6 separate regions of the Homo sapiens genome follow, and regions 1, 3, 4, 5 and 6 are each linked to region 2. Evidence: promoter capture Hi-C in 16 types of primary human blood cells and fetal thymus (Javierre and others, 2016). All regions are on one chromosome and are shown on one strand. The core of a region is centred on a gene start or on the middle of the fragment in contact, and the rest is flanking DNA. Distances in the headings are between cores, read along the strand shown.

Region 1 (4,701 bases), core at 1,015-3,514, 600 kb before region 2:
TAGAAGAATAGTTGGGAAGTAAGAGAGTAGCCAGAAATGAGTGGAGTTTTGAAGACTGAGGTTTGGCTACTGTGATAATGAGAAAGGACCACTCACTCCAGGTGAAAGCCTAGAAAAGTTCTAGTAGATATATTAAAGGAATAGTGGGCATACAGCAGGGAACAGGAAAAAGAAAGGTAGGAAAATAATACTGCAACCAGACTGAAAAGGGCTTCTTAATACCATGTCTATGATTTATTTGGGTCCACAATGGTGAAAAATGGCTTATTTTCTCTTGGATCTCTATTAATGTAAAAGTTTAAGATTACTAGGATTTTTTGTTGTTTGTTTAGGGACTACAGAAAGTCAGGAAACAAAAATTTAAATTACTACTATATTGTCTGTCCATCCAATCTTTCTGAAAGATCTCATTATCCTTTAAATACGGATAGTGACGTTATTTACTCATATAATTCTAACTACTGCTGAGTATTATACAGATCAAGTGGTAATAACAAGCTCCAGTTTCTTAGAAGGTGATACTTCCTTTACAAGTTAAACATGGCATATGGCAGTAATCCTGGACCTTCAGTGAAGATTTGTTTGTCATAATACTGCTAAGGATACTTCTGGTTTGTTTTTGAGACAAGGTCTCGCTCTATTGCCTAGACTGGAGTGCAGTGGTGCAATGCCAGCTCACTGCAGCCTCGACCTCTCAGGCTCAAGCCATCTTCCCACCTCAGCCTCTCAAGTAGTTGGGATTATAGGCATGCACCATATGACTGCTAATTTTTTTTTTTTTTTTTGGAGAGACAGGGACTTTCTGTGTTGCCCAGGCTGGTCTTGAACTCCTGGGCTCAAACGATCCTCCTGTCTTGTCCTCCCAAAATGTTGAGATTACAGGCATAAGCCACCATGCCCAGCTGCTAAGGATACTTGAGGTGGATAAGGTTTTTGCAGAAGTTGATCTTATAATAGCAGGAATTGGTAGATGAGACAATTCAGCTAGGACTATACACCGCTACCTTCCCCACTAAAACCAGGACAAACAGAAAACAAGCTTATCTCCTGAGAGAGAGAGAGAGAGAGAGAGAGAATTTTAAATAACTCTTTACAACGTAAAAACCATTTTTAGCTCAAAGACTACAAAAACAGGCTATGGGCCTGATTTGACCCACACATTATAGTTTCCTATCTCTGGTACAGACAACAAATTGGAATTAAGTGAGACAACATATGGGACTTTATTAAATAAGGTGAATTTGGGACAAATGAAAGGTGAGATGAAGGCAAACTACTGTCAAGGGATGATCTGAGCCTGAACAACTCAGTGAATGTGAAGAGAAAACAAGATTACATGTGAATATAGATGTTAACTGGAAAAGCAAGGAGAAAAAAAGGGAGCACAAGGAAGAAAAAAAAATCAAAATTTGTGAGCCATCTCAAGCCATCAAAAAAACTTCATTCTATTGTAGGAGGGAAGCTGGAAACAATGGCAGAGTAATTTTGTGTTAAGAATTAAAGTACTAGCTCCAGTTAGGCATATAAATGACAATTAGAAGGGACAGAAGTTATGGTTATGTCAGCAGCCTCCAGTGAGCTAGGATATAAACTAAGTCTTTTCAAGCTGAACAAATATATACACATTCAACCCATTTAAGTGAAGAGACACATTTAAGTCCACAAAAGCAAACTTAACTACCTACTATATAACTTACTTTTTATTGAAAGTATCTTGCATTCATGATGGATGCTTTCTGGGTTTTACCACATATTTTAATGTTAAAAGTTAAATTATTCTTTACATGCAAGTAGTGTGAATAATTTTCTCCACATGGGAACACTAATTATAAAAAGATGACATCCCACATGGGTTAAGTGTCTTTTTAATTGAAAAGCTAACTGTCCAGTTACATTTCTCCCAAAAAACCACAAACTGGGTAGTAACTGAGTCTCTAGGCAATATATTTAAAACTAAGAGGATTAAAAATAAAGAAAAAGAAAACAAGTCCTCAGATGCAATGAAGGGAGCCCTGCTACATACAGGCTAATCAATACAGTGGTACTCCTTGACTGCAGGAGGCTGGAAGACATCCTAGTAGCTCCACTCAGAACATTTACTTCAAGAAGCCTTTTTCCAGTTTCCAACTCATGAATAAAGATAATATTTTGTTAATTCTATTCCAGAAAACTTTTTTGCAAGTTGTTTTATTTACAATGCCAACTTTTAAAAGGTCACTAAAGTTAACTGGACAATAAACTAGGCAGACATTGCTTTACAAAAAAGAGGGAAAGCCCAAAATGCCACTTATAGAGAACCCACAGTTCAGTTTTATTCAGAGCAAAGAAAAAAGAAACTTTCCATCATACTAGAAGAAACTTGGCCGTAAGGTTTGGGATCTGTGCTCAAACTACACATGCAATGAGGACAATATTCTGCTAATACAATTGACTTGCTGCTGCATTTGTCTACTGTTTGTCTAATATTAACAATTATAAACAGAGCAGTGCAACTAGTATTTGGAACAATCCTTACAGTGTTACAGTGTCAGGCACAACATTTCACTTCTCTTCACACCACTGGTTCTCTTTGCGTACCTAAAAGAGATGGATATAGGGAAGTACCTTAACTTGAGTAGTCTTTCCTAAGACTTATAAATACTACCTACTGATTCATCGATAGCCAGTGAGTTGAGTCAGAAGAACAGATGGAAAATTAGAACAACACCAGGTTAAGACTATATTTCCGGATTTCCTTTCTTTGCCTCCCATGGTTTTTATTCTGCCCTGCTGAAATTATGAACAAAGCAAAGGCAATGGGCAATTTACTAAAGTTGACAGAGCAAATTCAGTTAATTCATTCACATTATTTCAGTCTGTAGTCATGTCAACAAAATCATTCTGATCTATTCTTTCATTTCCTCCCCTCATTAAGTTGCTCTAAAGTACCCTAGTATATACTTCTCTCTAGGGCCTGCTTTTCTGATGTCAGATATGTATGGTCTATACAGAAAGTTGCAGGTGCCAAAACTAGTAACTGTTAATACATTAACAAGAGCTCTTCTCATTGAAAACTAATTGTTCTTATGCTTAAAATGCAGTATCATCTAAGTGTTCAGATTCATAAAGACAGAACAGTAAGAGTATGTTTAAGACACATTAAGTACATATTATCCCTAAAGTATCAAGACTACTTGATACAGTCACCTCTTTTGCTGGCATGTTATAGGTGTTACTCCCTTTTTAAGAGCATGTGATCAAAGACAAAACTGTGTGCTACCTACCTGGGCTTCCTCCTCTTCAGTAAAGTCATTTTTGATATTGAAGGTCTTGCGAATCTCCTCAGGAGTTTTCCCCTTGATCATATTGGCAACAGTCTTGCATGTAACATCAAGCAAACCTTTGATGTCTAAGTAGTTTGCAGCCTGTAAAGAGACAGTTGTTTTCCTTAAAGTATACTTGATGTTTTAAACTAAATCCAAAGTTAATGATTGACACTCCGTATCTAATAAAGCTTAAAATGCTAATTTTAAGAAATTAAAGGGAGAAGAATAAATCACTCCTAAGTTCTTCTGTGAAAGACTTTTATGTGACCTTCTTTGTTATACCTCTATAATGTTGAATCCTTCTGCTTCCTTAACCAAACTATACTAGCTCAAATGTGAAATAACGGCCACTACTGTTGTGTATGTGTGTACACATGCACACAAATACCACATCAGGTCTTGGCAAAAATATTTGTCCACACTTAAAGAGTTCAAACGTAAGCAGTTATAGCACTATATTGATCTCATTTTAAAAAACAGGTTTTGGTTTCATTGACTTTATTGTTTACCTGTTTTCTATTTCATTGATTTCTGCCCTTTAATATTCTCATTCTTCTGTTTACTTTGTAGTTAATTTCATCTTTTACTAGTTTAAGGTGGAAGCTTAGATCACCGATTTGAAACTTTTCTTCTTTTCTAATAATATAGGTATTTCATTCCATCAATTTCCCTCTAAGTACTTCTTTAGCTGCATCTCACCGATTTTTCATGTGTTTTACTTCCACTCAGCTCAAAATACTTTCTATTTCTTCTCTGACCCATAGGTTACTTGCAAATGTGTTAGTTTAAAAGTAGTTGCAGATTTTTCCAGATACCTTTCTGTTTGTGATTTCTAATTCCATTGCAGTCAGAAGACATACTTTGTATGACCTGAATCCTTTTACAATGGAGACTTTTTTTTTAAGACACCGTCTCACTCTGTCACCCAGGCTGGAATTCAGTGGCGTGATCTCGGCTCACTGCAATCTCTACCTCCTAGGTTCAGCCAATTCTCTTGCTTCAGTCTCCCAAGTAGCTGGGATTACAGGTGGGTGCCATCTCACCCAGCTAATTTTTTTTTTTTTTTTTTGAGACGAAGTCTCGCTCTGTCACCCAGGCTGGAGGGCAGTGGTGCGATATCGGCTCACTGCAAGCTCCACCTCCCGGGTTCATGCCATTCTCCTGCCTCGGCCTCCCGAGTAGCTGAGACTACAGGTTCCTGCCACCCCACCCGGCTAATTTTCTATATTTTCAGTAGAGACGGGGTTTCACCATGTTAGCCAGGATGGTCTCGATTTCCTGACCTCGTGATCCGCCCACCTTGGCCTCCCAAAGTGCTGGGATTATAGGCGTGAGCCACCGCGCCCGGCCTAATTTTCGTATTTTTAGTAGAGATGGGGTTTCATCATGCTGGCCA
Region 2 (4,640 bases), core at 120-2,619:
CCAGGAGGTGGAGGTTGTGGTGAGCTGAGCTCTCACCATTGCACTCCAGCCTGGGCAACAAAAGCGAAACTCCGTCTCAAAAAAAAAAAACAAAAAAAATTCAACATTTCTGTGTGTGTTGCATGAGACAATACATATACATTTTTTTGGTGCCCAAACTCTCGAATAATGTTCTCAATCTTGACTGTACTTCAGAATTACCTGGGAAGCTTAAAAATTCCCAGTGCACAAGAAGCACTCCAGGCCAATTAAATCAGAACATAGGGGTGGAACCCAGGCTTCTATTTTATTTACTAATATTTTAGAGATGAGATTTCTCTGTGCTACCCAGGCTGGAGTCATCATAGCTCACTGCAGCCTCAAACTCCTGGGCTCAAGTAATCTTCTTGCCTCAGCCTCCCTGGCTCAAATGATCCTCTCACCTCAGCCTCCCAAGTAGCTAGAACCACAGGCGTGCCAGCACACCTGGCTAATTATTTTGCTTATTTTTTGTAGAGGGTCTCGCTATGTTGCCCAGGTAGGTCTTGAATTCCTGGGCTCAAGCCATCCTCCTGCCTCGGCCTCCCAAAGTGCTGGGATTATAGGCATGAGCCACCATGGCTGGCCCTTTTTTTGTTTTTTTGTTTTATTTTTAAGCTTCCCAGTGCAAGCAATGTTGAGAACTAATCTTTTGCCAAAGTATTTTTAGCTCTTTGTTCTCTACTAGGTTAACACCTACCGGGTCTTCAAATCTCACCTCAGAGTTCACTTCCAAGGGAAACGTGTTTTCTGAATCCGTCTCCAATGGTGGACTCTCCTTGCTGTATTACTTCTGCTTGTGTTTTTAGTCAAGTCTATTATTATTACTATTTTCTTTGCAGAGACGAGGGCTACGTTGCCCAGGTCTTGAATTCCTGGGCTCAATAGATCCTCCCGCCTCAGCCTCCCAAAGTGCTGGGATTTCAGGCGTGAGCCACTGTGCTGGCTTTAGTCATCTGTTTCCCGGATAGACTGTGAGCTCCCCAGGATCTAGCACAAGCCTGGCATATGACAACATAAATAAATGAGTGAATGTATACATGAATAAAGAGCGTGTACGGAGAAAGTTGCCGCATTATTTAGCGCAAATTAAGGCAGACATCAGCCTGCCCAGGACGCCTCTTTGGCTCTGGCGCGAAACACCCTCACGGGCCGGCGAGGCTGACGCGCTGCGCTCCATCGCACTAATCAGCCGGGCGTGGTGCGGGCGCCGGGAAGACTGGGCGGGGCGAAGGCATCACCTTTCGATGGGGCCGGCGCTGTGCGTCCTCCAGTCGAGGTGGGGCGCTGTGGAAGAGCGGCAGCTTCCGGTCGGCTTTTCTCTTCCTTCGGCTGCCGGCGCCAGCACGTCCTGTTTTCGTTGGCCGCGCTGGGATGGCCGCCACAGCTGTAGGTGCTGCTAGTGTTTAGCGCTGGTCTTTGCCGGGCGTTGAGGGCAGCTCAGCCTCCTTGTTTGTCCGGTTCGCCTGTGCGTGGTACTCAAGGGCACCAGTATTCCCGCGGTCGGCAGCATGGGTCGGGAGTCACGGTGAGGCAGAGCGCCGAGCGGGCTAGCGGGCGAGCGGCTTCTTGGGGTCGTGAGAAGAGGCGGGAGTTGAGGTGGCCGCCGGGCCAGGCCTGGCGCGGCCCCACGTGCGGTCAGCGCTGCCCCGCGAGCATTGGAAGGGCTGGGGGACCTCGGCTGAGGGAATGGTTGTGTTTGGGCCAGCGACGGCTTCCCCTGCACTACCATCAGAGGGTTCGAGCCCCTGGAGCGGGAACAACCCTCCAGGACGTTAGTGATTGGGCACCACATCCCGCCACTTCAAGGGAGCCTGCCCTGATTACTTCAGTCAGAAGTGATCCCAGTTGGATTGCTTATTGCTTCGCGTTTCCAACATTTCCTCGACTCCTGTCATTCTGTATTTTAGTTCTTTGTGCGCGTATGATCTTTTCCCAAGTTACTTGAAAGGAGCGTGTGGGCAGACATTTTTACCGCATCGACAGCACTATACACGACTAGGCTTTTACTGGGCTACAATAAATACTTGTTGCGTGGGCATTTACTTCGCAAATAGATTTCGTATTTAAGCAGGTAACTTTGTTACCTGCTTTTCTGTCCTTTTGAAGTTGTGGACTATGAGCTCTTATTAGAACTCATTAGATCTCATCACAACTTTAGATTGTTGATAGATTGTTAGGAACCTTGAGATTTTTATGTTAAAAATGACTATTTGCTATGTATTTAGCAATGACTGAAAGATATTTTATGTCTAGGAACAATGAAGGCTTTTGTTGTTAGTGCTAACAGTTCTTTGTTGAGGTACAATTAACAATCAGGGAAATGGACAAAACGTAAGGGTAAAGCTTGATGAAATTTAGCAAATATATAAACCGTGTAATCATCACCTGGATGAAGATAAAAAATATTTCTTTAACTACAGAAAATTCCTGTGACGGTGTTTTAAATCTCCGGAAGGCTGTCCAGACCAGAAATCTGAAAGTGATATTTATTTGACTCATTCTTCTCTCTCACTACCCACAGCCTGTTAGATTCTACATCCTTTGCCCATTCTGGTTGTCCCTGACTTAATTGAGGCCCTAATTATTTATTGTCCAGACTACTACATCTGTTTTAAATTGATTCTCTGAATTGATTGTCTTCCTCTGTTGCTCTCCTAATTGTTAGATCCCTTACACTACAGCCAGAGTGACACTTCTGAAGTAGAGATAAGATGATGGCATGCCCCTGACTTAGTCTCCATTGGTTTCTACTGCTTCCAAGATGAAATTTAAACTCTATGACAGCCTTCAAGGCCCTTCACAAGAAGGTCCATTCTAGCCCGTCAGCCTTCTCCTTTACCTCTCTGGTGTGCATGGCCTGTGCTCTAGGTTTGTTCAGGGAATCATGAAAGGCTTAGAGGTGGGAAGGCGCAAGGTGTTAGAGAAATAGCTAAAAAGCCCAATTTTTCTGCATATGTAGGTTTCATGAAGGGATTTTATCTTTTTTGAGAAGTAGTAGGAGGTAGGTCCTGAATAGGACTTGGGCCCAGAAAGCGGGTGGATTGTAGATTTTGAAGATCAGAATTTGTTTGTGAACCTTTGAAGATTTTGAGTAAAAAGTGTGTAATAGAATCAGAATTCTCCTTAGCAGCAATGAGTAAGATTTAATGGAAAAGTAATAGAAACAGGAAGACTACAGTCTTTAAGAATCTCCTAGGTAGATATGTCTGATATAGAATAGTGACGGTTGGAACTCTGTGGAGGTGATATAATGTGAAGGGAATTACAGAGGTGAAATTGGTATTACTTGGTTGTTTTTTTGTTTTTGTTTTTGTTTTTGAGACAGAGTCTCGCTCTTTCGCCAGGCTGGAGTGCAGTGGTGGGATCTCGGCTCACTGCAAGCTCCGCCTCCAGGGTTCACGCCATTCTCCTGCCTCAGCCTCCCGAGTAGCTGGAACTACAGGCGCCTGCCACCGCGTCAGGCTAATTTTTGTATTTTTTAGTAGAGACGGGGTTTCACCGTGTTAGCCAGGGTGGTCTCGATCTCCTGACCTTGTGATCCACCCGCCTCGGCCTCCCAAAGTTCTGGGATTACAGGCGTGAGCCACCGCACCCGGCCTGTTTTTTTGTTTTTGAGACAGGGACTTGCTCTGTCTCCCAGGCTGGAGTGCATTGAAACAATCTTGGCTCACTGCAACCTATGCTTCCCAGGTTCAAGAGATCCTCCCACCTCAGCCTCCCGAATAGCTGGGACTGCAAGCGTGTGCCACCACGCTTTGCTAATTTTTGTATTTTTTGTAGAGACAGGGTTTCACCATGTTGCCCAGGCTGGTCTCAACTCCTGAGGTCAAGCTCTCTGCCCACCTTGGCCTGCCAAAATGCTGGGATTACAGGCATGAGCCGCTGTGCCCAGCCAATTGGTGTTTTATTTATTGTATCGAATGAGAGCAAGAGAAAAATATTGATGATGACTAATGTTTTGAGCCTAGTGACCGGAAGTTGGTACGATTAATCGTTTGGGGAGGGAAGGGTAACAAGTTTGGGTTTCTACAGATTGAACTTGAGGTGCTTGAGAGATAATCAGGTGCATTCATCTCCTAGTGATCTTATTTAGGTTTATAGCTTTAAATAGCCTTTGTACACTAATAGCTGTCCAGTTTATATTTCTAGAGAAACCTCTTCCTTGAACTACAGGCTAATATTTCAACTATATACTATATATCTCCACTTGGATACCTAATATTCTGATCCACCTTCTCCCTGGATTTCTCCCTCAGCCTTCCCATCTTGGTAAATGGCAACTGAGTGATTTCTCTCTTGCTGTCACACTTGACATTTAGTTCATCATTAAATCCCATCGGTGCTAGCTTCAAGATATCCAGATTTTGATATTTCTCAAAATCTTTCCACCTTCCATTTTGATCTATGCCACCACTATCTCATGCCTGGATGATTGCTATAGTGCTGGTCTTTGCTAATCCTGCCTATTCTTTCTCCTTTTGTCCTTGCCTCCCTTTGTTTGGTTTGTTCTCTCAGCAACCAGAATAATACTTTAAAAACATTAGGCCAGGTGCAGTGGCTCACACCTGTAATCCCAGCATTTTGGGATTACATTAAGTGGAAGGATTGCTTGAGCCCAG
Region 3 (4,309 bases), core at 1,118-3,617, 770 kb before region 2:
CTTTAAAAAAAAAAAAAAAGAAAAAGAAATGATCAACTTTTTTCAATATAATAATAATATCATGGTTATGCTCCTTTAAAATGGATTATTGCCATTTAAAGATACATAATAAAATATTTACAGCTGAAATTAAGTGTTGTTATTTACTTAAAATAGTATGTGCGTGGAGGAGTGTTATATTTATGGCTGTATAAATAAAACATGATTGGCCACAGGTTGGTAACTATCAAAGCTGTGTGATAGGAATAGAATGAGGGTTAAACATATTTTTCTGTATATTTTTGTATGTTTCAGATTTCTCATTAAAAAAAAATAAAGGTTAAAAATTCCAAATTCTCAATGAGACAAGAATTTTAGAGGTCACAGCTGAAAATAAAGCCAGCACCCCTCCCAAGTGATGTAGGAAAATAGCCTGTTCCATGGCAAGAGTGACACCGTCTTGAAACAAAATCACCACTGATACAGTTTCGATGCTGTATCTTCTGAATCTCATGTTGAAATGCAGTCCCCAGTGTTGGACCTGCTGGGTGGTGGTTAGACCATGGGGGTGGATCCCTCATGGATTGGTGCTGTCCTCCCAATAATGAGTTATGAGATCTGGTTGTTTGCGTGTGGCACCTCCCCACCACTCTCTCTCTCTTGCTCCTGCTCTTGCCATGTGATGTGCCTGCTCCTGCTTCATCAATCACCATGACTAAAAGCTTCCTGACGCCTTCCCAGAAGCCGAGCAGATGCCTGTGCTCTGCTTGTACAGACTGCAGAACCATGAGCCAATTGAACCTCTTTTCTTCATAAATTAGCTATCCTCAGGTATTTTTTTCTTTTTTTCAGACAAGGTCTCACTCTGTTGTCCAGGCAGGAGTGCAGTGGTGCGATCATGGCTCACTACAGCCCCTACCTCCTGAGCTCAGGTGATCCTCCCACCTCAGCCTCCCAGGTAGCTAGAACTGACTATAGGTGCGCACCACCAGGCCCAGCTAGTGTGTGTGTGCATGTGGGTAGACGGGGTTTAACCATGTTGCCTAGGCTGGTCTCCAACTCCTGGGCTCAAGCAATCTGCCTGCCTTAGCCTCCCAAAATGCTGGGATTACAGGTGTGAGCCACCTCGCCTGGCCAGGTATTTCTTTAGAGCAATGCAAGGACAAGACTATAGGCGCTCACCACAATGACCAGCGTGTGTGTGTGTGTGTGTGTGTGTGTGTGTGTGTGTGTGTGTGTGTGTGTAGATGGGGTTTCACCATGTTACCTAGGCTGGTCTCCAACTCCTGGGCTCAAGCAATCTGCCTGCCTCAGCCTCCAAAAATGCTAGGATTACAGGCGTGAGCCACCTTGCCTGGCAAGAATAGCCTAATACAGCCATGACGACCAAGGAATGCATCATAGACAATCCCATAAAAGAAACAATGCCAGCCGGGCACAGTGCCTCACACCTGTAATTCCAACACTTTTAGAGGCCAAGGCAGGTAGATCACTTGAGCTTAGGAGTTCAAGACCAGCCTGGCCAACATGGCAAAATTCCATCTCTACTAAAAATACAAAAATTAGCTGGGTGTGGTGGTGCACACCTGTAGTCCCAGACACTCAGGAGGCTGAGGCAGAAGAATCGCTGGAACCCGGGAGGCAGAGGTTGCAATGAGCCAAGATCACGCCTCTGCAGTCCAGCCCGGGTGACAGAGTGAGACTGTCTCAAAAAAATAAATAAATAAAAATTTAAAAAGTAAAGATGCTTATCTAACCTCCCTTTGGTCACAAGTTTTGCAAGAGTTTTCTGCAAGATGGTCTAAGACATGCACATGTCTTTACTCTAAAAGCTTGCTATATAAAGAATACTTTCTGGAGGATGAATGCAGGGATCCACTGTCTCTTGGCTGCTTGAGACATCGCTTCTATTTGTAAGTCTCTATTAAATGTTTCTTTCTGAGAAACTGGATTTGTCAGTCTCTTTCTTTGGCTGCTCAGCTCCCTCAGCAGTTGGGAGTAGGTGTGCACAGACCTGCTCACCAACAGAACAAGTGACAATGAAACTTATGCCTTGGAACCTCAATTTTGTTCAAGTTACTTCTGTACATTTTGGCAAGGTTTGAAGGAAAGGAGTAACAACCAAATTATCTCTCAATAAGAAAAATCCAAAACTGGTCAGGCGTAGTGGCTCACACCTGTAATCCCAGCACTCCAAGGAGGGCAGATCACTTGAGGTCAGGAGTTGGAGACCAGCCTGGCCAACACGGAAAAACCCTGTCTCTACTAAAAATACAAAAATTAGCAGGACGTGGTGGCATGTGCCTGTAATCCCAGCTATTCAGGAGGCTGAGGCACGAGAATTGCTTGAACCTGGGAGGTGGAGGTTGCAGTGAGCTGAAATCACATCACTGCACTCCAGCCTGAGCGACAGAGCAAGATGTCTCAAGAAAAAAGAAAAAGAAACCTATCTTCATCTGCCTGCTCTTTGGGGAAAGAAGTCTGGGTTTCAGCCAAGTATGTGATTGGCACCAGGCTGGTTGAGATGACTGATGATTAGACAGCTGTTGAGAGGCTGACATTTACAAAGGGAAAAGGAAATATAAAATCAGGCATCTTCTAACCATCTCCTTTTTCAATTTTTAATAAAAAGCTGCTGATGATCACAAACTATGATGCCTATGGCAGGGCCTCTGACCAGTGGTGTGCACCACCTGCACCAGTTGACATGGCACCCCCACCCACTGTCTCACTGGATTCTGGCCAGGGCCCACAATCCCCAAGAGAAAGGGCAGTGCTGGGGAGTGGCTCAGGCTTCTCTCCAGGTCTCTTTCTAACACTGCACACCATGTCTGTGGAGTCTTCCTCTTTCAGATATTATTGGGATTTATTTTTAAGCTATTTCAACAGTAGTGCTAATTTGACAAGCACCCGAGAGAGGCCTGACTGATTTGTGGTTAACAAGCAAGCTTTATTTGTGATGGATACTCAGCGTGGGTGCTGGTCCTTATTGAGGTCTGTGGCCTCATCCAGATGTGGTCTACACTCCGCTCCTCCTGGGAGCCAGGTGTTTTCCCAGGCTGTACCCTCAGTCACTTTGGAAAGCCAGCTTTCGTTTCTAATCTCCATGATGCACCACCAGAACTTTCCTCAAATACCCAGTAGCATTATGTACATCTAGCACCCAGAATTTTAGTTTTGTTTTTTTTTTGAGATGGAGTCTTGCTCTGTCGCCCACATTGGAGTGCAGTGGTACCATCTCGGCTCGCTGCAACCTCCACCTCCTGGGTTCAAGCAATTCTCCTGCCTCAGCCTCCTGAGTAGCTGGGATTACAGGTGTGCGCCACCACACCCAGCTAATTTTTGTATTTTTAGTAAAGACAGGGTTTTGCCAGGCTGGTCTCAAACACCTGACCTCGTGATCCACCTGCCTCAGCATTCCAAAGTGCTGGGATTGCAGGCATGAGCCCCCGCGCCAGGCCTACAATCTTAGTTTCTAAATATCATTCTCCAACATAAAGAACCAAGGCTCCTTGGAGAAATGGCAGATAGCAGGACTGGGGAAAAACAAGTACTAGATGAGCGTGGTACACTTTCTAAAACCAGAAATAAAGACATGCTCTGAAAAACGACAGAGGTTTGTCAAAAAGCACACAGAGTGTATTCTCCCAAAGCCCATATCTGGGACAACTTGAGCGACAAAATAAATGACACTGTGCATTATAGCCCATAGAGTAAATGTCCATGCATCTATACTAATATAAATAAATAATTGATTAAATAAATACATGGGGAAGAAGGAATAGCTCTTCCTTACGGTAGAATACCAATTAACAAGTGAAGGAAGGATGGCAATAGAAAATTACCATTTGAGGCCAGGTGTGGTGGCTCACACCTGTAATCCCAGAATTTTGGGAGGCCAAGGTGGGAGGCAGATCACTTGAGTCAGGAGTTTGAGACCAGACTGAGCAACATGGTGAAACACTGTCTCTACCAAAAATATAAAAATCAACCAGGGGTGGCAGCAGGCACCTGTAGTCCCAGCTACTGGGGAGGCCGAGGAGGGAGGATCCCTTGAGCCAGGGAGGCAGAGGTTGCAATGAGCCGAGATCATACCACTGCACTCCAGCCTAGGTGACAGAGTGAGACCCCATCTCATAAAAACAAAAAAGAAAAGAAAATCACCATTTGTAGCCAGGCGTGGTGGCTCACACCTGTAATCCCAACAATTTGGGAGGCTGAGACGGGTGGATCGCTTGAGCTGAGAAGTTCTAGACCAGCCTGGCCAACCTGGTGAAACCTCATCTCTACTAAAAATACAAAAATTAGCTGGGCTTGGTGGCACACGCCT
Region 4 (4,660 bases), core at 837-3,336, 570 kb before region 2:
CTCTATACTCTTTTAACATACCAAATGCTGTAGGCCATCTGCCACTCAGGTAGATAGCAGAAATGTCCAACTGCTGCCAAAAGGTGGTTTAAGCAAATACATTTTGAAAATCCAAAAGATGTCTACTCATATTCCCAGCCCTACTTTAAAAATCCTGGCTTCTCATTTCTAGAGTATGGTTATTTTTCCTAGGATCTGTGGTGAAACTAGAAAAACCCAAAGACCAACAAAGCTATCACAATACCCTAAAGAAATCCAGAGCCAAGACTAAAATTAAGGGCAAAACCTGGTGCGGTGGCAACAGGCCAAGAGGCCATACCAGGTCGGACATCACCTGGATCCTTCCAGAGGCCATGAGAGCCATACTGCCATCCCAAAAATCTTGACTCATATTTAAATTGCCTACATCCCTTTACCCTACAACCAGTTTCAGTGCAGCTCTGAGGAGGAGCAGTGGGCTAAGCCTTGGGTTTGTCTTTGCATCCTAATTTTAGTCATAGATCAATGAAAAGATGAAACTTAAAATGGTAGTTTTATACATTTCAACCAAGGTAGAGATGAATGTGGTTTTGGAAAACAAAGGATGTTCAAGACCAAATACATTATACAGTTTCTCCTCCCGCTCCTCTGCCTGCTGCATGCAATACATACTCAAGACCTTCACTGCAAAGGGACTTACATTGCAAGTTGGACTCAACAGCAGGAGTACATTCTGCAGATTTTACATCTGGTATATTTCACCACACCATGTAACCTACTTTCTGATATGTTTGGATATACCTGACCTTAAAGCTCCCCTTTGACCAGGCCTGCCAAACCCAATTACTAGCTCTTGCTCCTATCCCCAGGTTCCAATGCCATACTCAGAGCAGTTCTAGAACTGCAAAAAGCCTAATGATTAGTCTCCTTGCAGATCAGAAGGTATGCTAAGCCTTGAGGTAGAGGCACTCAACAGCTTTGGGCATTTCTAATAGCTTTAATTAGACATTCCATTGTGGTCTTCCATAGTGTTCTATGGAGCAAGCACTCTTAACTTCCTATCACGATTCTGGCCTTTGACTTCCACCATCAGTAATCTTGCTTGCTGGTGGCTACAGCCTACCACTGCACTAAGGAAGAACAGCTAAATTATTTCTTGGAAGAAAGCTTTTAAAAATATATTTTTTCGAGACAAGAGTCTCGCAGTCTGGAGTGCAATGGCGCGATCTCAGCTCACTGCAACCTCTGCTTCCCGGTTTCAAGCGATTTAGTCTCACCCTCCCAACTAGCTGGTACTACAGGTAAGTGCCATCACACCCAGCTAGTTGTTTTTTTAGTGGAGACAGGATTTCACCATGTTGGCCAGGCTCATCTTCAACTCCAGGCTCAAGTGATCCACCCACCTCGGACTCCCAAAGTGATAGGATTACAGGCGGGAGCCACTGTGCCCAGCAGGAAGAACACATTAAAGTCCTTCCCACTAACAACACTGAATGGTTGAGAAGATTGTACACCATGGCTGAGGCTATCTCAAAATAGATTCCGAAGGGACCCAAGTAGTAAAATAAGAGCAGTGGTTTGCAGCATTAGCAGCATCGTACGCAGAGTAGACAAAATCCTGGCTACTTCTCACAAGCCTGTTGAGGATACAAACTAGTCATCCCTCAGTAATCTTGGGAGACTGGATCCAGGACACCTCCCTTGGATAGTCAAGTCTGGAAGTCAGTCCCCTTTACCAGTGGGTTCTGCATTCAAGAATACTGCATTTTTTGGCCAGGCGCGGTGGCTCATGCCTGTAATCCCAGCACTTTGGGAGGCTGAGGCAGGTGGATCGCCTGAGGTTGGGAGTTTCATACCACCCTGGCCAACATGGTGAAACCGTCTCTACTAAAAATACAAAATTAACTGGGCGTAGTGAGCCACGCCTGTAATCCCAGCTACTTGGGAAGCTGAGGCAGGAGACTTGCTTGAACTCGGGAGGCACAGGTTGCAGTGAGCCAAGATCGTGCCACTGCACCCCAACCCGGGTGACAGAGAGAGACTCCGTCTCAGGGGGAAAAAAAAAAGAACACTGCATTTTCAATCCCAGGTTGGTTGACTCCATTGACTCATTTGATGCAAACTCTGTGGATACTGATGGCTGGCTATACTTTAAATTATGGATTACTCATAATACCTAAACAATGAAATTGCTATGTATATAGTTATACTGTGTTTTTTTTTTTTAGACAGAGTCTTGCTCTGTTGCCCAGGCTGAAGTGCAGTGGCTCTATCTTGGCTCACTGCAACCTCCACCTCCCAGATTCAAGTGATTCTCCTGCCTCAGCCTCCTGAGTAGCTGGGATTACAGGCACACGCCACCATGCCCAGCTAATTCTTATAGTTTTAGTAGAGACGGGGTTTCACCATGTTGGCCAGGCTGGTCTTGAACTCCTGACCTCCGGTGATCCCCCCACCCCTGCCTCCGCCTCCTAAAGTGCCGGGATTATGGGCATGAGCCACTGCTCCTGGCCACTGTATTGGTTTTTATTGGTTCCTTTTCCCAAAAATATTTTCAGTCCATGGTTGGCTGAATTCTCAGATGTGGAACCCTTGACTATGGAGGGCCGACTGCACTTAATTAAATTCAACCTCAGACATGAGGGTTTGTGCTTTTCCTTAAAAAACAAAAAAGTGTGACTTTTTCCAGCATTCACTCATTAGCTATAATTATTTCCTCTTTCACTCTTGGGAATGAGGAATTCTGGTCCAGGCATGACAGCAAATACAAAACAAACTGGGGTCTGTTGCCTATATCACTTACTTGGTTACCACTGATCTTTGTATGTTCAACTTTTAAACAATTCAAACACAGTCCACATTTTTCTTTCCTCAAATTTATATACCAGCTGATAAAAATACATTTCAATCTATTTACAGGACAGCACTGCCTACAAGCCAACAATGCTGTGTTAGCAACATCCCATTTTTTTCTAGACAGTAGTACTTGTGCAATTAAATATATATAATAAAAAGTAGAAATAAAATGTACTTATATTCCTAAAACATAAAGCTTTAAATGTAATTGGAAAAAATATAGAAATCACCAGGCATGCCCAAAATAATACATCTACAACCTTCATAAGGCTATTTGCTAAAACAGATGTATACTTGTGAAGGGAAAAAAATCTAAATTAAAAAAGTTTATGAAGACTAGAAATATGTCAAAACAATGTGTGAGGACGAAGGCTTTAATGCAAAATAGCTTTAGCTCACAGAACCAAAATCCATCTGAAAACAAACAAGCCTATTACCAAACTATAGGTTACTAAACTATAGGCCCATTTCTAAGAACACATTTATGGTTGGAAGCAAAGGAATATTTATACTAAACAGGTAAAAGTCACCACTGAAACAGAGAGTCGCACGGTACATTTTAATTCCTTATCAACATCCATGAACCACCACCATGTATCCCAATTTTCTTAAGTATGTACTTAGGAAACAGCAGTGAGGTGTTTTTGTTTTTTGAGATGGAGTTTTGCTCTTTTTGCCCAGGCTGGAGTGCAATGGCACGATCTGGGCTCACTGTAACCTCCTCCTCCTGAGTTCAAGTGATTCTCCTGCCTCAGCCTCCCAAGTAGCTGGGATTACAGGCTCCTGCCACCACACCGGTCAGTTTTGTATTTTTAATAGAGATGGGGTTTCACCACGCTGGCCAGGCTGGTCTCGATCTCCTGACATCAGGTGATCCACCCACCCCGGCCTCCCCAAGTGCTGGGATTACAGGCATGAGCCACCGCGCCTGGCTGTTTTTAACCCTAGATGTAAATTAGAATCACTTGGGAAACTTAAAAAATGTATGCCTGGGCCCTCCTCCAGCAATTTAAATCAGAATCTCTGTAGGCATCAAAGCTGAGAACCACAGAAATAACTATCCTTTTCCTGAGCTAAGTCCTTCTTGAAACTAATCTAATATTGACAAACTTCTATTTAAGAAATACCGACTACAACCAACAAATGTTTAATATGCAGCAAATGAAAAAATCATGTCTAGGATACTCAACCCAAGACATGAGCACATCATGTACAAATTCATTGTAAACTTACAAAATAAGTTTCAAAATTTCTGCAAGCCCTCACTATACAAACTCAGAATCCTCTTTATTTTTGAGACAGGGTCTGGCTCTGTCACCCAGACTGGAGTACAGTGGCACAATCTCAGCCCACTGCAACCTCCATCTCCTGGGCTCAGGCGATCCTCTCACCTCAGCCTCCCAAGTAGCTGGGACTATGGTATGCCACCAAGCCCGGCTGATTTTCATATTTTTTGTAGAGATGGGGTTTTGCCATGTTGGCCAGGCTGCTCTTCAACTCCTGACCTCAAGGGATCCACCCACCCTGGTCTCCCAAAGTGCTGGGATTACAGGCATGAGCCACTGTGCCAGGCCTGTTCTTAGGGAAAGCTTTTTAGGTTTATTAATGAAAATCCTAATGTTACTAATTGAGACATCAGTTAACACCCAACTTAGTGATTCCCATCCAACCATAATTATGTATTTTTCAAGAAAATACATAATTTACTAACACATTTTCCTTACCATAGCCATTTTCAAAAGAAGGTAGGGTACTAACACTTTCCAGTTTAGATGGCCAAAGCCCGGTCAGTCTCTATAATTAAACAATTATTTTAAACCCTAGT
Region 5 (4,712 bases), core at 846-3,345, 580 kb before region 2:
TCTACTGATCTTTCCCTACATAAAAAACCTCTGACATTTAAGTACTAAAGAACACTCAATACTACTAAGTTTTTTTCATCAATTCCAGACACTGATTTGTATCACCCCACTGGTAACACTAAAAAGAGATCCACATTAACTAGCGAAAGTTTCAAGACCTGTTTTCTAAGTCACTTCCTTATGCTGCATATATACTTTGTAGTAGTTTCAGAGGAATGACAAAACAGACAAAAGAGAAAGCTTGTTTAAAAAAAAAAAAAAAAATTCTGCCTGGCAGAGTGGCTCATGCCTGTAATGTGGCTCTTCCCAGTACTTTGGGGTGCCGAGGTGGGAGGATGGCTTGAGTCCAAGAGTGCGAGAACAACCAGGGTAACATAGGGAGATCCTGTCTCTATAAAAACATTTAGGCTGGGCGTGGTGTCTCATGCCTGTAATCCCAGCACTTTGGGAGCCTCAGGCGGGTGGATCGCAAGGTCAGAAGATCGAGACCAGCCTGACAAACATGGTAAAACTCCATCTCTACTAAAAAATACAAAAATTAGCCAGGCATGGTGGCATGCACCTGTAATCCCAGCTACTCGGGAGGCTAAGGCAGGAGAATCACTTGAACCCGGGGGGCAGAGGTTGCAGTGAGCTGAGATCATGCCACTTGCACACCAGCCTGGGCAACAGAGCAAGACTCCGTCTCAAAAAAAAAAAAAAAAAGAAAATTAAAAAATCAGCTGGGGCAGGGCGCGGTGGCTCACACCTGTGATCCCAGCACTTTGGGAGGTCGAGGTGGGCGGATCACCTGAGGTCGGGAGTCCGAGACCAGCCTGACCAACATGGAGAAACCCCGTCTCTAACAAAAATACAAAATTAGCCGGGCTTGGTGGCACATGCCTCTAATTCCAGCTACTCGGGAGGCTGAGGCAGGAGAATCGCTTGAACCAGGGAGACGGAGGTTACAGTGAGCCAAGACTGCACCATCGCACTTCAGGTTGGGCAACAAGAGCAAAAAAATCCGTCTCAAAAAAATCAGCTGGATGTGGTGGCACGTGCCTGTAGTCCCAGTTATTCGGAAGGCTGAGGTGGGAAGACTGACTGAGCCCAGAAGGTTGAGGCTGCAGTGAGCCGTGACTGCATCACTGCACTCCAGCCTGGACAAGAGTGAGACTCTGTCTCAAATAAATCAATCAATAAATAAAATCTACACAGCAATCCACAGAGCTCACTCCCTCCACTGAAATAAGGTGTTCTATTCAGCCACCATTATAGGACGGTATCTCTTTTCCAAAGACCTTAATTTCTATCACTGGAACTTATGAATTCAAATTTACTTGAACAGAAATTAACCATTGCCTAAGGCTTGGCAATCACTTCAATGTTTATTTTACCTTATGATTTTATCCATTTAATGAGAGAACGACCCTCACTAATTCAGACAATGCAGAAAGGATGACCTGTATCAGAAAAATGTAAGTTATAAAGAAAAAAATGTAAACTTTACCTCTTCATACTCTCAAGCACCTTATGACAGGCTGCTGCTCATATAAATTTGATATTCACAAACTATCTCAAATTACACATTTCCTCCCACCCAGGTTTTCCAATGAACTTACCTTCCAACATGGTCTTAATAGTCACAGATTGTTTGGCAATTTCCACATCAACTTCAAATATCTCTCCATCAGAACTCTGCAACTTAATTGAAGGCATCTAAAAAAAAAGGACATTAAATATAAAATTTAAGAGAGAGAGTTCTACATGACATTTCATCAACTACAGTCCATCAGAAGGCTCTAACTTATTGACCACAAAGTTCTAAGAACCTACAATACATAACCCTGTAAAGCACTGTTGTAAGCAGTTATTCACAAGTTAGTCTCCGAGTATTTCTATTAAAATTTTTTCAAAGTATAACTACTAGGAACAGAAGCTTTTAAGGCCTGCCCTACTGAACTCACTATTGGTATAAATTTAATAAAACATACATATTTGTATTTGCTTTCTGCCTGCCTTTCGTCTCCCACTGAATACTGGACTCCATCTGAACAGTTAACTGCCACAATTAACTACATGCGAACCTGAGGAAGGTCAGTCCAAAACAAACAACGCTACTAAATAAGATAGAAATTTTCCCCACAGTGAGTCCTACCTGTGAAGATGAGTTCAGATCCAAAGAGTACATCAGAATATGCTCATTTATGTCTGAGGCAATGCAAGACCATATACAAGAGAATAAAATGATTTAAAGATAAGCAGATGTGAGTACAATTCCCTAAATCTACTTAAAAGCTTCATTTCAGAGCCCTTTTTATCTTTCAGTACTGACTGTCCAGGTGACCAACTTTGAGATCTCTTGGCAAGATCTCCATAATAATAACCTATTACTTGCTCTGAAAACGCATTTATTAATTCAGATTAATTATGAGTCGTTAGGAAAAAGATATAATCTTACATAAAAAGTTAAGCATTTAATTTCAAAGGACTTGAGTTCTGGCAAAAAAAAAAAAAAAGGCATTTAAAATTAAAAGTCCAACAATTTCTTACCATCTTCAAATTCTTTTTTTAAAAAAGAAAACATACAAACAAGGAAAACAACAACAACAAAAAGAATAGCAATACCTGGTACAGATTAATTCAAGGCCTCTTAAAACTCACATACAACTTTTAAAAGGCCCATGCTTCTCAAGTATTCATAATCCGGTGATGTCACTATTAACTTATGGCACCTCTGAAGTTTTCTAGGTGTGTTGTATTACAAATCGCATATATTTTCCCAAAAGTGTATCATTTGGCATTTAAAACATGCATCACACCCATTTTATGTTCAAAGACTTATGACCCATTACATCGGTTAAAATATTCATTCAGCTTCTCTGAGACAATTGTCGCCAACCCCAAAGCAAACAGGTTGTTAGGCAAAGGAAGCAAAAAAGTAAAGCATGTTTTAAAACCAGCCACTGAAATATCCTACTCTCACTCATCCATAGTTGGAGAGAATCAGATTTCACTTTGCGATTCACAAACATGTCTGCTTCTCCATGTTGCTTAGCGCTTGCCAATAATGCAGTTGTCCCTGCTTAATGGAGAAGGATGCAGAGTAGAGGACCCTTCCTGTGACAAGACCACAACAAAAGGTATCTCCAAAAGAAAATATTTTAACCTGAGCCCAATTTTTAATTATAAAACATTTAAACATGTAATTTTTATATTAGATAGTACTGAAATGAACAGTGCAGAATCACAAATCTAACAATGCAGTTGATTAAAATTACTCTAAAAGCAAGACGACCGTTTCATATTTCTTTCAAATAACTCAAGATAAGTGCTTAGTCATAGTCAAGTTTGTGGATTGGGTTACTCTTAAGGGAGTTGAGACCTTACTAAATAGCAGCTGGTCAATCGGTTAATCTGTAATTCGATGCACTTGGTAATACTAAACTCAAAGATAAGTTTTAGTGTTACAGTAGAATAAAGTGCAAAATTTTTAAGTAATAATGGATGAAATATTTATTTGAAATGCTTTCAAAACAATTCCATTCTAAAGAAAGAGGCCTAAAGGCTCCTGCACTTGTAAATAATTCTCCATGGCCAGCATAAAGCGGGTTCTATCACATCATATAGAAAAAAAAACCCCTGCGCTTTAAGTGACCCGAAATTCTGACACTGCTTTTTAGACTGCACAGTGGAGGAGACGGTATTGTTCTATGAAACGGATACATTCTACTGTCACGCTCTAAAGGAAAAATGCATGTCCCTAAAACCCAAACGTGAAGTTTCCATTAAAAGTGAATCAAAGCAGGTAGACGTCCTATTTCTTTAAAAGCCAGATACCTAGAGTTAAGTTATACACAGTTAAGGCTCCTACAAGTCACACCACTCTGACGATGGTATCTGCTCAACGACTCCAAGTCATGGCAAAACAACGCTAAGAAATATTCAGATGGAGCAGGCGGCTATGTGCAGAAAGCCGGCGCCCGCACACGGTTAGCCAGGACCGACCGGTAGCTAGTGACGCCAGACACGGTGGAGAAAGGATGGGAGCCAAGAACCGGGCGGCCTCAGACCACCACCGCAGCTCTCCCTCCCGACCACAACAAAAGCCAGACACCGACACACGCCCACGCTCACGACAGCCAAGGGACCCCCATTCACAACCCCGCCGCCACCCCCGCCCTGGTCCCCGGGACAGCAGGCTTAAGACCAAGAGAGGCCCCCGGCCGCAGCCTGGGCCTTGCAGCCGAGCTCCGCGCCGGCTGACGCTCGGCCGGTGCAGAGAAGGCCCAGCCCGGGGTTCGGCTCACTTATGGAGCGCCGTGAGGACGCCCGGCCAGAGGAGGCCTCGCTGAGTCGGGGGCGGGGCAGGTGAACGGAACCTGGTAGGGTCTCCCGAAGAACAGGGTCGACAACGCGATCCACCGGGCCCGAAAGAAGGCCAGGCCCAGTCACCGCCCGCCGCGGGCAGGCCCAAACCGCAGCGGTGAGGCCAGCCGGCACGCAATCCGGTAGCCACGACCCTTTCCAGTTCAGTGGGCGGCTACTCACGGTGTTCGGTGTTAAGGAGACGGCCGGCGGGAGGCTGACGAGAGCCGGGAGGCGTTAGCGAAGGAAGAGAAAAACCGAAGACGAAGCCACTACAGCGTCGCAGCGCGGCGCGGCGTCTGCTTTATAGGAGAGGGCGCAGGCGCCGAGGACCCCGGGGCGCGCGGCGTCACATCGCGGCTGGG
Region 6 (4,350 bases), core at 1,092-3,591, 790 kb before region 2:
AGCAAAACGCCACTCATTCTTCTAAGGATACCCCCAGTATCACCCTATTCATTGTTTAACTCCAATACCTAGCACCAAGTAGGAGCAGAATGTCTTAGTCAAGCAGTAAAATCTTGGAAGTAATACACAAATACAGCACAAGAAAAAACAAATAATTGACCTGAAACATGTAATACAAAGGCTATCAACTTACTCAAACTCCTTCAAATCAGAGAAGTTGATTAAGTCAGATATGAAGAGTATTCAGAACAAAGGTACAACTCTGACTTTACGGATTTAACTGTTGACCTTCTATGAGCATATAAATAAGACTTCTAAATCTTCCCTTTCCTAATTGATATTACCTCTCTACTTGAAGCTTAACATTTTAAAAATAAAGCTTAGGCCGGACACGGTGGCTCACGCCTGTAACCCTAGCACTTTGGGAGGCCAGGGCAAGTGGATCGCTTAAGCACAGGAATTCAAGACCAGCCTGGCCAACATGGCAAAACCCCATCTCTACAAAAATACAAAAATCAGCTGAGCACGGTGGCAGGCACCTGTGGTCCCAGCTATTCAGGGGGCTGAAGTGGGAGGACTGCTTGAGCCCAGGAGGCGGAAGTTGCAATGGGCCAAGTTTGTGCTACTGCACTCCAGCCTGGGCGACAGAGCAAAACCCTGTCTCAAACAAACAAACAAAAAAGGCTGGGCACAGTGGCTCAGGCCTGTAATCCCAGCACTTTGGGAGGCCAAGGCGGGCGGATCACGAGGTCAGGAGATTGAGACCATCCTGGATAACACGGTGAAACCCCGTCTCTACTAAAAATACAAAAACTAGCCAGGTGTGGTGCGCGCCTGTAGTCCCAGCATACTCGGGAGGCTGAGGCAGAAGAATCACTTGAAACCGGGAGGCGGAGGTTGCAATGAGCCGAGATCACGCCACTGCACTCCAGCCTCGCGACAGACTCAAAAAAAAAACAAAAAACAAAACTTTATAAATTTAATTCTCCCCTTCTACTGGTCCCTTTTTAAAAACTGCCCTAAAATAAAACTATATCAGCATTTCTTAAACTTAAGAATGCAGAGGACCCCGAGAACTCATTCACACACTGGTTTGAGAAACAATGCCTTAAAAATGAAATGCATTATACATTAAGTTTAGGTGATCATTTGGGGACAATATAATGGCAAATGTAGAGAACCAGGCATTTTTGAAATGGCATGACCAAGAATTAGTCACCCAGTGATCCAAACTGCTTATGTTAATTTTTTAGACTTGATCAAAACAAAAACATAAAACAAAAATTCTTACAGACTGACGAGCATATAACCAAGCATTGACAGTTTTTAAAACCTAATATGGAACAAATTTAAATAAATCTAATGTGGTAACCTTCTACCTTTGTAAACTCACTTGAAATTTGGAACTCAACACATTCTAGACTAATTTTCTTATTACAGGAGTGACTACTTTGAAATTATAAGGTATGCTTACAAAAAATACTTATATCCCAAGCTACACTGTAGTGCAGTGGAGCTGCTCGCCTATTAAAGACATGTATGTTCGTTTTCATTTAGCTTCTTTTCAGGACAGAATAATCTGAATTTATGACATTTTAAACTGGTGTATGTAAAGACTTAATTTAAAAGATAAAGATTCTCTAAAATGTCTCAGTATAGTTAGAAAAATATTTATAGGGCTCTAACAAATAAAAGCAGAGACTAAAGGACACTTAACAGTCCACATTCTGCCTCACTTCTTGCCCAATTTTCAACCATCTCTTAGGGGAAAAAAGCTGTTTCTGAAACTACAGTTGCCAGATATATATCCCTTAAGCATTCCAGCAGGAAATATAAATGTTTGTGTTTTATTTTTCTTAGATGATTAAATGGCCAAAACAATTAAGCTACTTAAGTACTTTAGGAACGGGAATATCTGCATCAACCAGGGAAATCCTCATTACATTTCACTAATGATAAAAGGGCCTTAGGAAATGGACAGCAGTCCTTCCTCAGGGACTGCAAAGACTTCTGGGAGGGCGTCCAGTTAGCAACACTGAAATGTTGCTGAGGAAACATAAGTATGTACCCACAGTACTGTCGCAGAGGAATGTAGGGCTGGACAGGCCCTGCTGGCAAGAAAGAAAACACTATACCAGGTCACACTGTTTTGCAGCTGAAAATTCAAATTTAGGGAGAAACGCAGGACTGTGTCTTGGCCTGAAAGAAAAATGGGACTACTAAACAAAATACCGTTTAATCCTTACAAGTTCTTAATAGTGGATTTTTCCCACCAAGTATCAGGCACTGGTTTACAGATTTCCTAATTTCTCAATAAAAGCCTTCAATCTCTTGATTTCACCATGCAACATTTGCAAGAAATGAAATATTTTATCAATCAAATCCTACAGATGCATTAAAACGAGGCAGGGTTATCCTGGTTAACTCGGAACACAGGGAAGAGGAATCATGATCTCCCTTGTCTCCAAACTCCTCTCTGCCTCCCAAGCCTTCAGGGGCCCAACGCCCCAGTACTCTGAATCTTTATCAAACACCAGAACCTCCCAGTCTTCAAATATGCACCAGTACCCTAAGACAGCTCTTTCCCTTTCACTTTCCCTCTCGGAAATATTCCATTGGTTCAGTCCAGTCACTGGATTACTGCCCCTGCCCGCCTCGGTCTTTACCACTGACCTCTCCCATTCTGGAAAACCCCCACCTTTCCTTGGTCCTGCAAGATTCCTGAGTCCCCCAAACTCAGGACCCTTTCCAGACACCACACCCCCAGCCCCGGCCACCTCCTCAGCCCCTGTCGCCACCCTCTCTTCCAGAGTCTCCTAACTTTCCGATCCAAGAAATTTTGGAGACCCCACCACCGCCATTCCTTGCGGCAGCCCATTCTTCAACGATCTCTAGGCGCTAACACCACTCCTCCCTCCCCGCCCATCTACACACCCTGCTGCCTGCTCCCTGGGTTCCTGCATCTCTCAGGGACCCCGCTTCTCAGGCCCCTTGGAGACCCTACCACCTTGGACCCCTTCAGACACCATACCCTCCGTCCTCAGGCCCGCGGAGACCCTGACCCAACCAGACACCGCCGTCTGCTCCTGACACTTGGAAGCGCCCTTTCCCTGGCCCGGCCTGTCTCCTGCCCTGCGCCCGAGCCCTCCTAGCCTTCCTAAGCCCACACTGCCGCCCCCCTTTACCACTGGATAGAGCGGCGGACACAAGCAGGAGCGCCAAGACCAGCGGCCGCGCCAACCCCACAAGGGCTTGGATGGCCGACCCGGGCAGCAGTTTCGCTTGTGCTGGCCCCCTCATCCTCTTCGGGACGGCAGCGGCCATAACGGACTCGGCTGGGAGCCTGCGCTGTTGCTAGGCTCTACGCCATGAGGTCAGACGCCGCGGCCCTCGGCACATACGTCCCAGCGTGGTGACGTCGAAGCCTGGAGACGTGCTCTGGAAACCGGAATAAGAAGGAAGGATTGCAGGGAGGAGGGAGTTGCCGCTAGGCGAAAGTGGGGACCGCCACACAGTTGGCTGCGGATTAAAGGTAGGGTGTGACGTGCTGAAGAGGGCCAAAGCGAGCCCCTCCCTGCCGCCTGCATGATTGGGTACTATACAGCCAAAAATAGCGTTTTTAGCCATTTTAAAAAGGAAGATCCAGCTGTAGAACAGACTGATCACGAAAGCGAAGTAACTGCTCTTCCTCTCTCAAAGGCGAAAGAAACACAAATGTTAAGTAGTCCTATTTCGGTGATGGGATTATAAGTAATTTTTAAAAATCTTTCCCGACAGTCATTTATTTTTTTTCAACAAAGATTTAGCACCTCTCCCTATTTAAGATACAGCAGTGAACAAAAAGAACCCCCCACCCCCCCGCCCGCCTTGGCAGTTTATTTTCTTGTGAGGGCGAATATGGTGTAAAATACACACTATACAAGATGATAAAGATATTATGGACCGGCCCTAGTGCAGTGGCTCCCAGCACTTTGGGAGGCCGAGGAGGGCAGATCACCTGAGGTCCGGAGTTGGAGACCAGCCTGGCCAACATGGAGAAACCCCGACTCTACTAAAAATACAAAAATTAGCCAGGCGTGGTGGCGCGTGCCTGTAATCGCAGCTACTCGGGAGGCTGAGGTAGGAGAATCGCTGTAACCCGGGAGGTGGAGGCTGCAGGGAGCCGAGATGCCACTGCACTCTAGCCTGGGCCACAGACTCCGTCTCAAAAAAAAAAAAAAAATTATGGAGGAAAAGAAAGGAAGGTAGCTAGGAAGTAGAGGTGAGGGGCTGCCATTGAAAATAACTTTCAGATTTCCTAAAATAAGCTTCTCTTTTTAAATTTTGTTACTTGAAATCCCCAGTGTATAA

Evidence for each region. The method cuts DNA at HindIII sites, captures the fragments that hold promoters and counts their contacts. A CHiCAGO score of 5 or more calls a contact.
Region 1: a contact is called between a fragment that was not itself captured here and the fragment with the promoter of DDX46 in region 2, in 1 of 17 cell types (M2 macrophages). The highest score is 5.0, in M2 macrophages.
Region 3: a fragment that was not itself captured here is called in contact with the fragment with the promoter of DDX46 in region 2 in 2 of 17 cell types (activated CD4 T cells and total CD8 T cells); the score reaches 5.9 in activated CD4 T cells.
Region 4: a fragment that was not itself captured here is called in contact with the fragment with the promoter of DDX46 in region 2 in 4 of 17 cell types (erythroblasts, total CD8 T cells, naive CD4 T cells and 1 more); the score reaches 6.3 in erythroblasts.
Region 5: a contact is called between a fragment that was not itself captured here and the fragment with the promoter of DDX46 in region 2, in 5 of 17 cell types (total CD8 T cells, naive B cells, erythroblasts and 2 more). The highest score is 7.7, in total CD8 T cells.
Region 6: a fragment that was not itself captured here is called in contact with the fragment with the promoter of DDX46 in region 2 in 2 of 17 cell types (non-activated CD4 T cells and total CD8 T cells); the score reaches 6.4 in non-activated CD4 T cells.

What each region holds. Positions count from the first base shown.
Region 1 is chr5:134,155,192-134,159,892 of GRCh38, forward strand. SKP1 (S-phase kinase associated protein 1) reads right to left here. Exons shown (of 6, transcript NM_170679.3): 5 at 3,264-3,404; 6 at 1-2,577. The coding sequence ends at 2,542. Among named protein-coding and RNA genes, the nearest start is that of SKP1, 19 kb to the right of the region's middle. The HindIII fragment of the contact is 2,454 bases long and covers 1,038-3,491 here.
Region 2 is chr5:134,757,410-134,762,049 of GRCh38, forward strand. DDX46 (DEAD-box helicase 46) reads left to right here and starts at 1,370. Exons shown (of 23, transcript NM_001300860.2): 1 at 1,370-1,546. The coding sequence starts at 1,530. RefSeq lists an enhancer at 1,145-1,634. The HindIII fragment of the contact is 1,728 bases long and covers 635-2,362 here.
Region 3 is chr5:133,983,246-133,987,554 of GRCh38, forward strand. The region is part of intron 5 of VDAC1 (voltage dependent anion channel 1); the gene reads right to left. Among named protein-coding and RNA genes, the nearest start is that of C5orf15, 17 kb to the left of the region's middle. The HindIII fragment of the contact is 1,116 bases long and covers 1,810-2,925 here.
Region 4 is chr5:134,191,139-134,195,798 of GRCh38, forward strand. It overlaps PPP2CA (protein phosphatase 2 catalytic subunit alpha), which reads right to left. Exons shown (of 7, transcript NM_002715.4): 7 at 3,194-4,660. Among named protein-coding and RNA genes, the nearest start is that of SKP1, 17 kb to the left of the region's middle. The HindIII fragment of the contact is 1,885 bases long and covers 1,145-3,029 here.
Region 5 is chr5:134,172,325-134,177,036 of GRCh38, forward strand. SKP1 (S-phase kinase associated protein 1) reads right to left here and starts at 4,626. Exons shown (of 6, transcript NM_170679.3): 1 at 4,531-4,626; 2 at 1,602-1,698. The coding sequence starts at 1,698. RefSeq lists enhancers at 4,007-4,286, 4,377-4,626. The HindIII fragment of the contact is 359 bases long and covers 1,917-2,275 here.
Region 6 is chr5:133,965,261-133,969,610 of GRCh38, forward strand. C5orf15 (chromosome 5 open reading frame 15) reads right to left here and starts at 3,365. Exons shown (of 3, transcript NM_020199.3): 1 at 3,186-3,365. The coding sequence starts at 3,324. It overlaps LOC105379183 (a long non-coding RNA gene), which reads left to right and starts at 3,429. Exons shown (of 2, transcript NR_134247.1): 1 at 3,429-3,532. RefSeq lists enhancers at 2,559-2,658, 3,289-3,508. The HindIII fragment of the contact is 3,928 bases long and covers 378-4,305 here.